Regions from separate parts of the Homo sapiens genome. Here regions 2 and 3 are each linked to region 1. Evidence: promoter capture Hi-C in human tissues and cell types (Jung and others, 2019). All regions are on one chromosome and are shown on one strand. The core of a region is centred on a gene start or on the middle of the fragment in contact, and the rest is flanking DNA. Distances in the headings are between cores, read along the strand shown. Region 1 holds the start of MLNR (motilin receptor). Region 2 overlaps FNDC3A (fibronectin type III domain containing 3A). Region 3 overlaps CDADC1 (cytidine and dCMP deaminase domain containing 1).

Region 1 (3,514 bases), core at 686-3,185:
AAGGATTACCGGAACTGAGGTGCTAGGGGAAGAGAGCTAAAAAGAGAGCGGGCGGAGGTCAGAAAGAGGGCTGACTGAAGTGGAGGTGGAGGAAGGCTGGCAGGCAACCGTGAGGTGTAAGTTCCGTCGACAGGCGCGGCTGAGATCGGGTGGAGAGCAAGGTCATAGGTGGAAAGGAGGTCAACAAACTAGAGGCCAAGGCATTCCAAGACTCGGCATGGGTGTGAACGGCCGCAGATGCAGTGCTTCAAAGAGAGCGCAGGCACCTGTCCCTCAGGGACTACGGGTGACCACGGAGGAAAGCGCTAGGGAGGGCGGTTTTAGGACCGCTGGAAACAGCAGCGATGAGGGAGGCGACAGGTGTCCCTCCTCCAAGCTCACAGTCTGCATGTGAGAGAGAACTGCAGGAGAAGCTTGCCCTAGGCAAAGCCAGGTGTCAGGTCCAGAATCGAGACTCCAGAGAAGAGGTTGAGGATTTAAGCCACTGAGGGGGTGGAGCTGGGCAGTGAGTAGGACGTCAGGCTTGCAAGCTCTGGGATTAGGCCGACCAGAGCCCATATCCCAGTCCCGCCTCTTACTGCCTGCTTGATCTCAAGCAAGACCGCTTTGTTCATGGGCGAAAGGAGCGCCCCGGGCCATGAGGATTAAATGGAGAGCACAGGGCCAGATCCATCTAAATTCTCAGTAAGTGTTAGCTATTGTTATTAAGACCACACCGAACAGACTGAACATCCGTTTTAGCCCCTTTCCCCAATTTTCGTTCTTTCCGGTGTTGACAAATCCTCTAGTTTTTTAAGTTTATAAAACATGTTGTACATAAGAATGACATATCACATGTGAAAGTACTCTAGTGTCCACGTAAATATTTGTCTTGTTCTTTATAATAAGTAAACATGCTCACGGATCCTTGAAATTATCTGGTCACTGCCGGGCGCGGTGGCTCACGCCTGTAATCCCAGCACTTTGGGAGGTCGAGGCGGGTGGACCACCTGGGGTCAGGAGTTCGAGACCAGGCTGGCCAACATGGCGAAACCCTGACTACACAAAAAACACAAAATTTAGCCGGGGCTTGGGCGCTCCTGTGCTCCCAGCTACTCAGGAGGCTGAGGTGGGAGGACTGCTTGAGCCTGGGAGGTCGAGGCTGCAGTGAGCTGTGATCGCGCCACTTAAACTCCAGCCTGGACGACAGTGAGACCCTGTCTCAAGAAGAAAAAAAGAAAGAAAGAAAGAAAAAAAGAAAAAAAAGAAATTATTTGGTCAATTATATGGTCAGCTCCCTCCACCACTCGCGAATTTACAGAAGAGGAGAACTGGGCTGGGCGAGACCAGGACTAGCCCAAGATTACACAAGTTACTCGGTTGTAGAGCCAGGATTAGACAGGAGAGGCTCTAGATTCTGGTCTAGACTCCCCTCCTATTATTTAGCATTATGGCTTCCTGAGGATTACCATGAGCCCTCCTCCACCGTCAAGCGGCAGCTACCAGCCACCAGACCAGATCCCTTCGAAGGTGCCCGGAGTACCAGACTGACAAAAGCGCCCGTACAGTGCTCAGTCCTGTAACCAAAGCTGTCTAGGGTGCAGACATCGCTCACCGGACCGGGTAGGGCTCGTGCGCTAAGGGCGCCGGGTATTCCAGTTAGTGGAGAGGGAAGCGCCCTGGAACTGCATGGGCCCGGGAGAGGGCGCGGGAGCGGAGCAGGGCCGGGCCGGGGCGGGCCGCGGCCGTGGGCGGAGACTGCGCGCAGCTAGCTCGGGAGCGCCTCGGAGCCCACCCCGCAGAGCCGCTTCTCGCGCCCCGCAGCGCAGCGCAGCGCTCCGCCGTCTGACCTGCCGCGCCCGCAGCGTGCGGGCTGGGAAAGGAGGCGCTCACCGAGAGGGACCACGCGCCAGGCTCCCAGCCCGACCCGGGACGCGGCGGCCGCGCGGAGCACCCATGGGCAGCCCCTGGAACGGCAGCGACGGCCCCGAGGGGGCGCGGGAGCCGCCGTGGCCCGCGCTGCCGCCTTGCGACGAGCGCCGCTGCTCGCCCTTTCCCCTGGGGGCGCTGGTGCCGGTGACCGCTGTGTGCCTGTGCCTGTTCGTCGTCGGGGTGAGCGGCAACGTGGTGACCGTGATGCTGATCGGGCGCTACCGGGACATGCGGACCACCACCAACTTGTACCTGGGCAGCATGGCCGTGTCCGACCTACTCATCCTGCTCGGGCTGCCGTTCGACCTGTACCGCCTCTGGCGCTCGCGGCCCTGGGTGTTCGGGCCGCTGCTCTGCCGCCTGTCCCTCTACGTGGGCGAGGGCTGCACCTACGCCACGCTGCTGCACATGACCGCGCTCAGCGTCGAGCGCTACCTGGCCATCTGCCGCCCGCTCCGCGCCCGCGTCTTGGTCACCCGGCGCCGCGTCCGCGCGCTCATCGCTGTGCTCTGGGCCGTGGCGCTGCTCTCTGCCGGTCCCTTCTTGTTCCTGGTGGGCGTCGAGCAGGACCCCGGCATCTCCGTAGTCCCGGGCCTCAATGGCACCGCGCGGATCGCCTCCTCGCCTCTCGCCTCGTCGCCGCCTCTCTGGCTCTCGCGGGCGCCACCGCCGTCCCCGCCGTCGGGGCCCGAGACCGCGGAGGCCGCGGCGCTGTTCAGCCGCGAATGCCGGCCGAGCCCCGCGCAGCTGGGCGCGCTGCGTGTCATGCTGTGGGTCACCACCGCCTACTTCTTCCTGCCCTTTCTGTGCCTCAGCATCCTCTACGGGCTCATCGGGCGGGAGCTGTGGAGCAGCCGGCGGCCGCTGCGAGGCCCGGCCGCCTCGGGGCGGGAGAGAGGCCACCGGCAGACCGTCCGCGTCCTGCGTAAGTGGAGCCGCCGTGGTTCCAAAGACGCCTGCCTGCAGTCCGCCCCGCCGGGGACCGCGCAAACGCTGGGTCCCCTTCCCCTGCTCGCCCAGCTCTGGGCGCCGCTTCCAGCTCCCTTTCCTATTTCGATTCCAGCCTCCACCCGCCGGTACTTCCCATCCCCCGAGAAAACCATGTCCTGTCCCCCAGGAGCTCTGGGGGACCCCAGGGCGCTTTGAGGGTGGGATCCCCGGATCCGATTCAGTAACCAGCAGTGCTTTTCCAGAGCCTCTGAGACCAGAAAGGAGAGTTGGTAATTCTTAATCCAACCACCTGTTAGATGCCACAGATGAGGAGTCCTCACAGTGCTCTTGAGAAGACGAGGGAGATTTCATTAAGCTAAAATTTTTTATTTAATGTTAAGTGATGCTGAAGGCTAAAGTAAACCTTGCTCGTATCAAAAAGTAAAGATTGTGCAGACCTGTTGTAGAATTCTTTTCAACAGAGAACAGAAAACTTGTCTCCGAAGTGGGTTTGTGGAAGGAAGCCTGCCAAGGCGGCTTGTTCAGAGAAATTGCTCCTTCTGGTTTATGTCCAGCCTTGATAACACATATGGGAGCCTACTATGCAGTTTTAAAGCAAGTATCCATGCAGCCTGCAGCCTGGTCATTTTTTCTGGGGTGAGGATCTGCCTAG
Region 2 (3,514 bases), core at 532-3,031, 35 kb before region 1:
TAAATAAGCAAACAAATAGATTGTGGTAAGTGCAATGCAGGTTAATTAAAATAGAATGGGGTAAGAGAGAATGACTGGGTAGTTAAGGAAGTCTTCTTGGAAATGACATTTAAACAGATCTGAGTAACAAGGAAGTAACATGTCAAAATCAGAAAAACATTCCAAGTGAGGAAATAACTGCTAGCACAAAGACCCTACAGTGGAGTTTCAAGAGGTAGTTAAGGATGAAATCACATAGGGCCTTGTAGGCATGGTGTGGAATTTAGATTTTATTTTGAGTAAGATGGGAAGCCATTAGAGGGTTCTGAGCTAAGCAGTGATAAAAAGTCCCTCTGGCTTCGGTGTAGAAAGTAGTTGGGGGTCAAGGGCAAGAATGTACACTGGGAAACTAGCTAGTGGTATAATTACAGTCACTCAGGAAAGATAGGAGAAAGGAGGCTTTCATTAAAGTGGTCGTAGTTGTAGAACAGTGAAGTGGAGGTAAAGTTAACCAGATATAGTAAGAGATTGGATGCGGTTTAGAGAAGAATCAAGGATGTCTCCTTTTTGTAAGGTCAACCGAGAGGAAGAATAGACCCAAAGTCAGCCGAGTAAGTTTATTGAACCTGCCGGCTGCTCCACTACAGACAGAGGAGGAAGCCCTGAGCTTATAAAATGAGGGGTTTATATTGGGGAGAGAGACCCTGGGGTCGTTTGTTGGTTAACTTTATCATATATCACCTTGTGACATTTGTGGTAGCAGCTAAATGAAGGAACTTACAGGTAGGTGTAGGTAAAGCTTGTTTGTGCTTCCCACGACCTCCCCCTGTGCGGTCCCAATGGCCTGTAATTGGGATTTGCTTATCACAGCAAGGCCTGATAGGTGAAGTCTGCTGGCTTCATTGTGGCACCTAGATAAGGGCTTAGAAATGTAAAGGGGCTCAGAGGGAAAGGTGGGCAGCACAGAGAAGAGTTGCAGAGCATAAGGGGGAGGGGGGTGGGCAGCATGGAGAGGTTTGAGGGGAGCGTCAGCAGTACCAAGATTTTTTGGGGCAGTTTGTCTCTAACACTTTTGACTTGAGCAACTAGGTAGATGGTAGAGCTTTTTACTGTGGGGAGAGAAAAAGAGGGGCAGGTTTAGAGAAGAAAAAATCATGGTTTGATATTGGACTTGAGGATCTTTAAGTTCAGTAGAGGAGAAAATGTAACAATACAGGTATAGTTAAATTTCTATAATAGAAAAATACCTAGATTGGAATTATATTTCTCTATTGCTTTATAACAAATTATCCCAAAATTTAGCAGCTTGAAAAAACAAACTTATAGTTTCTGTGGGTCAGGAATTGAGAACCAGCTTAACTGGGTAATTCTGATGCAGGGTCTCTATGAGGTTGTAATCAAGATGTCAACTGGGGTTGCAGTCATCTCAAGGCTCTCCTGGGACTTCACTCACTTTCAGGTTCACTCACATGGTTGTCTCCAGGAACCCTCAGTTCCTCACCACATGAGTTTTTCCATAGGGAAGTTACACACACCGTCATTTCTGCTGTATTCTGTTTGTTAGAGTGAGTCATTAAGTATAACACACACACAAGGGAAGGGGGATTAGACTTCACCTTTTGAAGAAAGGAGATTCAGAGAATGTGTGGACCTCTTTCTAAACTCACAAAGAATGTTAAAAGAAGAAACAAAGCAAGCCTAAAGCCCATGAAGAATCACCAGATTATAGCTTGTTCCTCTGATTCTTATTTAGTATCAAAATATTAGGTTTTACACTTGTATTCCCAGGACGGACTCTAAAAGGGGAAGTACAGTTGCATACTCTTCATATATGCCAAGTATCTATTGGAGACAAGCAATTCTCAAAGAACAAGCCATTCCAAGCTAAAAAAAATGTATTTTATCATTTGGTTGAAGCTGTTTGTCTCCTATCACTTTGTTTATTAAGCCAGTATCATTAGGTATCAAGTGTATTATTTAATGTCTTTCTGTTCTCATCACAGGTTATTGCTTACAACTCAGAAGGTAAAAGTAATCCAAGTGAAGTAGTAGAATTTACTACTTGCCCTGATAAACCAGGCATACCTGTAAAGCCTTCAGTGAAAGGAAAGATACATTCACACAGTTTTAAAATAACCTGGGGTAAGATATTATGCATGTTTATACATTATTACTTTTGCGTTTGATTAAAATAATTTGAATATGAAGATAATTTTTAAGATATTTGAGTAAATTTGTTATCTCAAGCCAGTCCAAAAAGAAATGTGAGAGTCATTCATTGGGTATGTTTTTTGTGGAAAACCTTATACTCTCATACATGCTAGGTTAAGATATGATAAAAAGGAACTTGCGATCCACTGTAAGATAATGAGCAGGGGTAGCACTGTGAAATGAAGGATTACTGAACTTGCAGCTAAAGTCACCTGGGTCATCTGGCTCTCGTAAGAAATGAAAACCATTCATTTAAAACAAACATTTATCGAGCACCTACCTACATACCTAATGGAAAAACAAAGATCCCATAAACTTGACCCTTGCCTGAAAAATTCAGACCAATAAAAATGCTTCAGTGATATTTATAATATTCAAAAATTTCAAACAACCTTAACATCTAAAGTAAATGGAGGCTGGGCATGGTGGCTTACGCCTGTAATCCCAACACTTTGGGAGGCCCAGGCGGGCAGATCACATGAGGTCAGGAGTTCGAGACCAGCCTGGCCAACATGGTGAAACCCCGTCTCTACTAAAACTACAAAAATTAGCTGGGCATGGTGGCACATGCCTGTAGTCCCAGCTACTCAGGAGGCTGAAGCAGGAGAATCGCTTGAACCCAGGAGGCAGAGGTTGCAGTGAGTCGAGATTGTACCATTGCATTCCAGCCTGGGCAACAGAGTGAGACTCCATCTAAAAAAAATAAATAAAAATAAGTAAATGGAATATCATGCAGCCATTAAAAATTGTTATAGAGAGCCATATTTTAAATATGGTAAATTAAGTGAAAAGCAGATGACAACAGCATGGAGTAATTGGGTACTGGTATTAAGTCATTGCAGGTGATTTTTTTTTTTTAAACCTAGTTTGGTATTCTGTTTATTAGGTTTTTTTTATCATTTTTATGTTGTTTTGTACCTTGCCTAATACTACTTTGCTTCTTTGGATAGATCCACCAAAAGACAATGGCGGAGCAACCATCAATAAATATGTAGTGGAGATGGCAGAAGGTTCTAACGGTATGAATGGATATTAAACACTGATAGATTTATTCCAGCCAGTCTCTTTCTATTCTTTATGGCTTTACATTTTATGTCATATCTTTTCTTTCTTCTTGCTTTTCATAAGGTACACCATAAAAAGATGTTCACTTCACTTTGGGTTGTCCTGGATTTTTTTTTTTTAATGTCATAAGTTTATTGACAAACATATCTAGTATGCCATATGAGTTCAAGTTTGATCCACTTCCAGAGGCTGTACCTCTTAAAATGCTCTTCATATCTGTTAATGGATGAACTGAAACATCCTTATGTTTTAAGTAGTT
Region 3 (3,514 bases), core at 383-2,882, 36 kb after region 1:
TAGGTAAGAGGTCTGAAATGAGCCTTACTGGGCTAAAATCAAAGTGTTGGCAGAGCCAAATTCCCTTCAGACACTCTACGGGAGGACCTTTCCTTGCCTTTTCTACCTGTGGAGATTGTCTGTTTTCCTTGGCTCATGGGCCCCTTCCATCTTCAAAGCCAGCAATGGCCAGTCAGGTCTTTCATGTTGCATCGCTGACTCTCCCACACCCCTCTTTTACTCATAATGACCCTTGTGATAACATCGGGCCAATCAGATAATCAAGGATAATCTCCCTATGTCAAGGTAGGTGGTTAGTGCCTCAGTTCCAGCTGCAAACTGATTCCTCCTTGCCATGTAACAAAACATAGTCACAGGCTCCAGTGACTGGGACAAGGAAATCTCTGGCGGGGCATTATCCTGCCTACCACAATCCCGATCTAATACCTTTGCTACATAGTTCCTTATCTTCTCAATTCCAGTTAATTTACCTCTATTCCACTTTAGTCATTCATGGCCACACTTTGGACTTTTCCATTACTCAAAACTGCCACAATTCTGAAACCATAAACTTCAGAATTTTATTTTCTCATTACAATTTCCAATCCTTCTATGTTTTGGGAAAGTACATAGGGGATAGATTATAAAGGTTTATTTACTAGGTAAAGTAGTATGAACTTGATCCAAACAAAGTGGGAAGTCAATGTAGAGTTTCATCATGGAAAAAAAAATGGTCAAAGCCAAGGAAGCCAGCCTTTAAATATGGGAATATTGAATTAGTCATATGTCTTATGTGCTAATCTTTTTTTTTCCTTAATCTGATTTTTATTAGAAAAATGAAGAGGGAAAGCATGGACCCTTAGGAGATAATGAAGAGAGGACCAGAGTATCTACTGACAAAAGACAGGTAAATTTTTATGATTTCACATATATATGCTCATAATAACAAAGCAAAAGGAATAGTATAAAGTAGAATAAAAGTGCCTCCATTTCTACTATCAAGGGAGTTTTTAAAATACTCTTCTAAAAATGGTCTGTATATTTACAAGACTATATGTCACTCCTTTTTTTTAAAAAAAAAAGTACAGATGGGATTATTCTATGCTACATCCTACATCTTGCTTTAAAAAAAAAAAAACTCTTGATGGTTCATATAGATGTGTTAAGAAATACTCTCCCTTAGTTCTCTCACACTCCCACACACCTTGCTGGGTATGCCAAGAATGCAAGGCCCTAACCATTTTTTACCTGGGTCATTTCTCAGAGTTGTGTTTGCAGTGATCAACCCTGAAGGTTGAGGTAATATCTCCCTCCAGGACAAAAAGCAATCTGGCTTACTTTCTGCTGTGAAACAGTAGGACCCTCAAGCTCAGTGTTCCTCTCCTATAACACTACCCACCCTGTGTCCAGGCAGCCATCTGTGCCCATTTGTATTACCCCTCATGGGGCTTGAGGGCAGGAAACAGAAATGATGCTCATACTGACTGCTGTGCTGCAAATAATAAAGTTCATTGTTTCTAACCCAGAAGTTTCATGTTTTCTGCTAATATCCATGAAACAGTAACAGGTTAACTTATTAGTTGGTAAGTAGGGTAAAATCAAAGTGCAGACTTGAAAGATGAACCTTGTTCTTTTTAATATTGTATAGTATTTCCTTGTTACTTTATTCCTTTGAGTTTTCCAGAGGTTCCGATTCATTGGATGCAGAGTGGAGACTAAGCATGTATGTTTTGAAGAGTTACCTTGATGATTCCGATGTATATTCCTAGAGATTTCCTAATTCATTCTGAGAGTGAGCCCAGTAGGAATATAGAAATAATTTGTCTCAGAATATTTACATGTTTTCATAATAAGAAAGGCCAAGGGAAAAAAAATAGTGAATCACCATTTAAGTCAATGTACTAGTCCATATACAAAACAGACTGTACCCTTTTGCCCATGTTTTAGTGTAAAACTCTGTGACTAGGATCAAACAGATGACTTGCCAAAATGTTAGCGAAGTGAGGCAAAATCAAATTCAGAGCAGCGATTCACTGAAAAGATTCAGTCCTCTGGGAGTTGTGGTAAATGGAAGTGCCAAAATGGAATGCAACTTGAGCTTTTATTTGTTTTATTGAGTTTGGGATGGAAAAATCTTTGTCTCAAACTTGGTATTTTGGCCTTACCTAGATGCAAAATGAAAAAATACATATTTTCTGAGGTAAAAAGGACTCTAGACAAAAAAGTGATAAATAAACTCGACCCAAAAGATTGTTCTAATAACAAATAAGTTGATGAGTGTGCTTCTCACTTGATAGGAACAATTTTTTTTTTTATGTTTTATTCTGGCTTTATTTCTGTCTGTTTAACTAGGAAAATCTAAAGCTGAAATCATTCCCTTGCAGCCACTTCCACTGGTTACGTTGGTTCAATTTAACAATAGGAGCTCTGTCAAGATCTTTTGATGAGGCAGCATTACTTCTTTTCCAAGATGATACGTATTGGCCGGGCACGGTGGCTCACGCCTGTAATCCCAGCACTTTGGGAGGCCGAGGCGGGCGGATCACGAGATCCAGAGATCGAGACCATCCTGGCTAACATGGTGAAACCCCATCTCTACTAAAAATGCAAAAAATTAGCCGGGCGTGGTGGCAGCTACTCAGCTACTCCACGGGCTGAGGCAGGAGAATGGCATGAACCCGGGAGGCGGAGCTTGCAGTGAGCCGAGATAGTGCCACTGCACTCCAGCCTGGGCGACAGAGTGAGACTGTCTCAAATCAATCAATCAATCAATCAATCAGTCCAGCCTGGGCGACAGAGTGAGACTCTGTCTCAAATAAATAAATAAACAAACTTATTGAAAGTATTCAGAAATCAATAATAATATATGCTTCGCATTTGAGGAGCATAAAACTCAAGAAATTTTGGTAGGGAGGGGAAAGTGTTCACAAATTCAAGGTCAATTTAAAGCTTATTTTAAAAGCCAATATAGATAGGTTTTTCATATTTTATATACATCCTTAGGTACATATTTTGTAAAGCAGAGATTTTTGTATTCCTTTATAAATGTCCTTCTAGTTTAGGAGATGGTTGGTTAACTCAGAAATGGAATTCCATAAAATCTTCTCTGTTCCTTCTTTTTTAGATAGTTTACAAATTATTCTCCGTAATCTCAAACATTCATACTCAAAACCGAAACTGAAACTTGACTAGTTAATATCGCTTTGGTCTGATCCTTAAAGTGATTTCAGATATGCTGTATTGGGGGATAAGTATAGGGTTAAATCCCTTTGGAAGGGGATGGGGAATAGGGACACCCTCTCCTTAGCCCAAGCTCCCCTCATGTAACAGTCAGTCCCAAGCCCAAGGATCAGGTTTACATTCCTTACTTCAGAGGCTTTTGCTGTGAAAACAGCATAGACTGTTTTGTGCCTTATGCAGAACTGACTTTTTTTTTTAACCTTAGTCTGTTTTATCTGATATTGTTATACCAGCTTTGATTAGTATTTGTTTAAGTTGAGAAACTTTAGGTTCAATAGTAACACAAAACCTTCAC

The links. Contacts are between HindIII fragments. The study calls those that stand out against the background at their distance.
Region 2: a fragment that was not itself captured here is called in contact with the fragment with the promoter of MLNR in region 1 in 1 of the 25 tissues and cell types used here (mesendoderm cells).
Region 3: a contact is called between a fragment that was not itself captured here and the fragment with the promoter of MLNR in region 1, in 2 of the 25 tissues and cell types used here (heart right ventricle and mesendoderm cells).

What each region holds. Positions count from the first base shown.
Region 1 is chr13:49,218,403-49,221,916 of GRCh38, forward strand. MLNR (motilin receptor) reads left to right here and starts at 1,936. Exons shown (of 2, transcript NM_001507.1): 1 at 1,936-2,836. The coding sequence starts at 1,936. RefSeq lists silencers at 1,366-1,622, 1,559-1,818, 1,889-1,968. The HindIII fragment of the contact is 10,157 bases long and covers 1-3,514 here.
Region 2 is chr13:49,183,982-49,187,495 of GRCh38, forward strand. It overlaps FNDC3A (fibronectin type III domain containing 3A), which reads left to right. Exons shown (of 26, transcript NM_001079673.2): 15 at 1,983-2,121; 16 at 3,141-3,209. It also overlaps the pseudogene COX7CP1. Among named protein-coding and RNA genes, the nearest start is that of MLNR, 35 kb to the right of the region's middle. The HindIII fragment of the contact is 3,540 bases long and covers 12-3,514 here.
Region 3 is chr13:49,255,028-49,258,541 of GRCh38, forward strand. It overlaps CDADC1 (cytidine and dCMP deaminase domain containing 1), which reads left to right. Exons shown (of 10, transcript NM_030911.4): 3 at 812-886. Among named protein-coding and RNA genes, the nearest start is that of CDADC1, 8.9 kb to the left of the region's middle. The HindIII fragment of the contact is 3,632 bases long and covers 1-3,448 here.